Linked DNA regions of Homo sapiens: region 1 is linked to region 2. Evidence: promoter capture Hi-C in 16 types of primary human blood cells and fetal thymus (Javierre and others, 2016). All regions are on one chromosome and are shown on one strand. The core of a region is centred on a gene start or on the middle of the fragment in contact, and the rest is flanking DNA. Distances in the headings are between cores, read along the strand shown.

Region 1 (2,721 bases), core at 142-2,641, 84 kb after region 2:
GACCAGTCCATATCCTCATTTGAATAATGTGCTTCTAGCGATGCAGACTAACTGTAATTATGAAAATAGTTAACCCTTATTGAATTTGTTTATGTACCAGGCCCTGTGCCAAGCGCTTTCTGGAAGAACCACATGTGAAAGGTATTTTTGTATCTTTTTTTGTACATGAATCATTGGAAGCTTAAAGAAGTTGGTTAACTTGGCCAAGGACACAGTGATCCAAGCCCAGGGCACTTGGCCATGAGGATGTATTATATTTCCTTCCCTTTGCACCCACCTATGACACACGTCTGACCATTTAAGCCTTTGGCTTCAGCAAGATGGAAAGCAATTTGTCTTCTCCTAAAGATCAAAGCCTGCTCTGACCCTGTGGGAAATACACTTACCATTTACCCAGACAATTACTTTCCCCAGGTTCCAGGAGGTGCCAAATCTCCCCTTTTTCTCCTTCCAGACAATCACAGCCCTCATTAAGCCCTTCCTGTTTGCACTCTCATTTCCTACATAAATTCCTATCAAGGTTACCAGCCCTCCCCAGTTTATTCCTTTCTCTCTTTCCCAGCCATGGCCTCTCAGCCACCAGTCACCTCTTCCCCCAACCCCCTGACCTCCCACTTCTCTTCTCAATTCAACTGCTCTTCAGGATTTCTGGTTGCACTACCTCTGGAGACAAGACTCTAGCATTTGTTCTTGTAAGTTAATCTTTTCTTAGTCCCTTTGCCTTGTTCTCCTTTCTTTGCTTCCCCTACTCACCAGGGAAGTTTCCACTTCACTCCCTACCCTCCTATGTGCTCCTTCTTTGCCTCCTTGATATCCAGCTCGAAGCCCATATTCTCCAGAAAGAGAAAATTTTTTTGGGAGACCGAGATCTTCCTCTTCCCTGAGTCCCCTACCAATGATTCTCTCCCTCTTGTGGGTTTCTGCAGGGCTAGCAGTGCATCCATCAAACCATTAGGGCCTCCATGTGGAGAGGCCAGTTGGCTCCCTTTTTAGGAAGCTCTGCCCTTCCCTTCCAGCAGACCCAGAGTGGAAAGGGCCCAGGGTCCCTGCCTTAAGCTTTGTCAAGGGTGCCATATGTCAAGGGTGCCATATGATGTTTTGTCTTGGGCCCAAGGGGCCTCAAACTGTAAGGAAAAACCCTCTCTGATGGTTTCCTGGCTCAGACTTCTGCAATTAACAGGACTTCTGCAACTAACCACCTTCTTGTCTGCCCACATACATGATACTGACCTTCTTTTATTCTCTCCTCTGTACAGAGTTACCTGACCCTCAGGAAGATTTAGGCTTTTTTTTTTTCTCCCATCTCACCTTGTATAAATATGTCTTCTCAGTATAGTAATGTCATTGGATTGAGGATACTTGTTTGCAGAGGAGGCAAGAATGCGTTGTTCCGTTTTTGAATTCCACACATCTAATATGGAGCCTGAGCCACAGGGCTCAAAATGTTAAGTAAACAAATGAATGGGAAATTAATAAGAAGAATGCATTGGCAAGACCGTGAAGGTACATTTCTAGGAGTGAATGTGAGTCTGTCGGACCATGTGGCAATGTGTATTTGTAATTCTTTTTAAATGCACAAGTTTGAGGACTGTGTTGAGTATTGGGTAGTATCTCTTTGAAGTGTATTTTTTACTTGACTGTGCTTTTAAATAAAGAATGGCTGTGTCAGTATGATCTTGGCTATGTCTAATTACTATTTTTGTGAAATGGGACAAATAAAGCTTGTTCTTTATAGAGCACTGCTCTTGTAGTGTGCATGTGTGTGATGGCTTGTGTATTTGAGTGCTTTGGAGGGGCCGTGTTCCTGGAGAACAATCTATTGACACTGATGGTGGGCTGAGTAGTAAGCTTAAGAAATTTCCCTGACTTCAAGGAATTTACAACATCCTTGCGGGGGATTTAGACTCTGATGTAATTATTCTCAGGACATATAATAAAGTACTAAATTGCTCATCAAAGACAATCAGATAATACATATTAAAAAGCTAATTGTGCAGTAAAAACAAGTGCAAAAGAAGTCAGTGGGGGAAAGATAAGCTTGAATTGGAACTACCAGAAATGTCTTATGAAGAGAGGGATTTTTCTTTCCATTTTGTCTACTGTCCAATGAAAAGCTCAGCAGACCCAGCAATCCCATTACTGGGTATATACCCAAAGGAATACAAGTCATTCTTTTATAAAGATACATGCACCATATGCTTATTGCAGCACATTCGCAATAGCAAAGACATGGAATCAACCTAAATGTCCATCAGTGATAAAGAAAATGTGGTACATATACACCATGGAATATGATACAGCCATAAAAAGCAATGAGATCATTCCCTTGCAGGGACATGGATGGAACTGGAAGCCATTATTCTCAGCAAACTAACACAGGAACAGAAAACCAAACACTGCATATTCTTACTTACAAGTGGGAGCTGAATGATGAGAACACATGGACACATGGGGATGGGGAACAACAAATGCTGGGGCCTGTCTGGGGTGGGGACTTGGGGAGGGAGAACATCAGGAAGAATAGCTAATGGATGCTGGGCTTAAAACCTAGGTGATGGGATGATCTGTGCAGCAAACCACCATGGCACACTTTTACGTATGTAACAAACCTGCACATTCTTCACATGTACCCCTGAACTTAAAAGTAAAAAATAAGGCTTAACAGAACATTTTTTAGGGCATCTCAGCTTCCCTTTTTCCAGCTGATAAGAATGTTTTGAC
Region 2 (2,700 bases), core at 137-2,636:
TCCCATAAACCTAAAAATAAATAAGGAAATAAAGATATTCATTGTGTACATCTGGTAGGTCTCAGAGCGCCCTGTTATTGTTGGGAGTTCAGGTGCAACGGCTTGGAATGCAGAGACGCGTGGACTCCTTGTGTTTCCTTAATGTTCTGACTTATTTTTCCCCAGAGGGGTGGGCCCTGGCAGCATCCCTGAGCCCCATAACTCTCCCTAACACTCTTCCTCCTCTGCCCTTTCTGTGCCCCATGGTAGGGATGGGGGCAGTCCCTGACTCCTTTGAGGGAGTTGAGCTATTGAATGGGGTCACTCATGTCCTGACTCCCACCATGGAGTCCAACAAGGCACATGCCCATTCTGTCCCCCTTAGACAAGCCAACAAGGGGTGGCCCTTCACTTGCTCCCCATGCCTACCAGGACCCTCCCCACCCCAGCACGAACTTACCCAGAACTGTGCTGGTTTAGTCAGCCCGATGACCAGTCCAGGTTATGAGGGTCCTTGGTCTCAAGGACCCAGTTAATACTGGGACTGCATTAACCCTCAAGACCTGGCTACTCTTTCTGGGCAGAGAAGCCAGGACACCAAGCGATCCCTCAAGAAGTTCACTCAGAGGGGCTTAGCCATCCTCACAGAGACACCCTGACACAGACATCCTGCCTCCCTCCCACAGACATTGCTGAGGGGTGCACACGCTTACACAGGCACCCCCTTCCCTGGTCCTCTTGGCGCTGTTCTCTCCAACACTCCCTCACTAGCCCATCAGTCACCTTACTCCTAGCACACACCCTGGACCCCCCATAGCACCCCTGCTCCCAGGGGTCCCCTACACTTGGGGATGGCCTTGAGTCGAGTATGGGTGTGGAGGACAGTTCCAGAGGGGACAGCCAGGAGGAGACTCTGTTCCTGCACACACCCCTTCTCTCCTCTTTCAGCTCAGGAGGCCTGAGTCCCTTTGAAAGGCCTGAAGCCTGGGGGAAGGTGGGCTGGACACTCCTGGGGAACCCTATGCCCTGGGATCAGGATTAACTCTTCAGGTCCTGGCCACTCTTTCTCCCAAGCCTGGCTTCTCCTTCCTCTTCCCCACTTCCCCCAGGGAAGGAGGCAGCAAATGAGTGGTGAGGGGAGCCCTTGGAAGCTGTAAATGAGGTGACTGTTGTCACCCTGAGGATGTGGCCAGGAGGAAGTGAAGTTTAACAGGTGCCTAATTACAAGTCCCGCTGGCTGTCCTGTGCCACTCTTAGGACAGGGAAGAGCTTGGGTGAGGGCTGGGTAATGCCCAGGTAGGCCACCCTGTCACCCTGCTAATTAGGGTTCCTGGGACTCCTCCCCAAGGCGGGGACCAGGCCCCCTCCCTCCCATAGAAATAACTCCAGCTGCTCCCCAGCTGGGCACTCATTGCACCTTCCTGCCACCCCAGGCAGTGTCTGGGCCCTCAGCTCCCCCTCCCTCCACCTACCCCCTCACACCCACCACTACGACCCCACGGGATACCCAGCCCAGACGGAGGAAACACCGAGCCTAGAGACATGAGAGTTGGAGGAGCATTCCACCTTCTACTCGTGTGCCTGAGCCCAGGTACGGGGCTGGGCAGGGGGCAGGGTAGCCAGCATGAGGCTAGGTGGGAAGGAAAGGGGCAGCAAGGGCTCACAGTGGAGCCTGGGGCTGCCTGAGTTGCCTGGCAGGGTGCTGCCCACCCTTGCCCTGCTGCAGCCGGGTGTGGGTATTACCAGGGGACCTTTCCCCAGGAGACCCTGTGCCTGATGTTCAGGGTGTGTGTCTGTAGTGCAGAGGTCTTTGAGTGGATCTTTATATGTCCCCTGTCGGGCTCACACATGTGTGCAGGTGCCCTGCAAGCTCATGCCGTGACTAGGAGGAGAGGGATTGATTGCTCTGCAGGAGCTGGAGGTGGGGTAGGAGAGGGGTAAGCACGGGCATTGGGTGAGGGCTCAGGAGGAGCTTGGGAAGGATCAATTTTCATCAGACTGTGTGCTATTCCCAACGCTACTCCTTCTCTCCCAAGGCCAGGGCCAAGGGGCAGGGAAGTCACTTGCCTTGAAAGGGCAAGAGACTAAGTCTGGTGTAAGTCTGAGTGGTTTCTTCCATCATGGCCAGTGACAGCTCAGGCCTGAGACCTCAGCCTTGGGCCCCCTGTGCTATGACAGGGCAGTGCCCCACTCTAGGATGAGGCCTGAGGGTGGTGGGGATGGCAACTCCAGAGACTTCTCACCCCACCAGGACAGGTCCACAGGGCAGGGCTCAAGTTTGGACATTGTGGCTTCCTGCCCAGGTTGGGGCAAGTTCCACCAAGGGGCATTCTATGCCAACATCACTGGAAAGGGCTCCGAGTCCCTCTTGCAGTCTGGATTTGGGATGAAGGGGCATGAAGGAGGAATTTGGGAAGGCGGGGTGACATTTTCAGCCTTTGTGTGAGCGTGAATGTGTATGTGAGTGTGTGGGTGCGTGCACCTGCATGGGAATGATGACATTTCCGGCAGGATAGCTGCAGCCCTTCTCTGTCTGATGAGAGCAGGGCTGGCAGAGTCCACTCGGGAGGCTCCAGCTGTGCTGTGGGGACCCGGACTTCCCCCTGTGTGGTGTGTCAATGGGTGTGTGAGGACAACTCAGCACTGGCTGCATTAACGCATCAATACCCTCAGCTGGAGCCGCCTTTTCTCCCCTCCCTTACCTCCAGAGGGAAGATCAGG

The links. The method cuts DNA at HindIII sites, captures the fragments that hold promoters and counts their contacts. A CHiCAGO score of 5 or more calls a contact.
Region 1: a contact is called between a fragment that was not itself captured here and the fragment with the promoter of VSIG8 in region 2, in 2 of 17 cell types (naive CD4 T cells and total CD8 T cells). The highest score is 5.8, in naive CD4 T cells.

What each region holds. Positions count from the first base shown.
Region 1 is chr1:159,777,197-159,779,917 of GRCh38, reverse strand. It overlaps LOC101928264 (a long non-coding RNA gene), which reads left to right and starts at 537. Exons shown (of 3, transcript XR_922193.3): 1 at 537-692; 2 at 1,257-1,503. The HindIII fragment of the contact is 665 bases long and covers 1,059-1,723 here.
Region 2 is chr1:159,861,343-159,864,042 of GRCh38, reverse strand. VSIG8 (V-set and immunoglobulin domain containing 8) reads left to right here and starts at 1,386. Exons shown (of 7, transcript NM_001013661.1): 1 at 1,386-1,570. The coding sequence starts at 1,522. LOC107985216 (a long non-coding RNA gene) reads right to left here. Exons shown (of 2, transcript XR_001738263.2): 2 at 1-2,700. RefSeq lists enhancers at 1,058-1,970, 1,971-2,700. The HindIII fragment of the contact is 16,901 bases long and covers 1-2,700 here.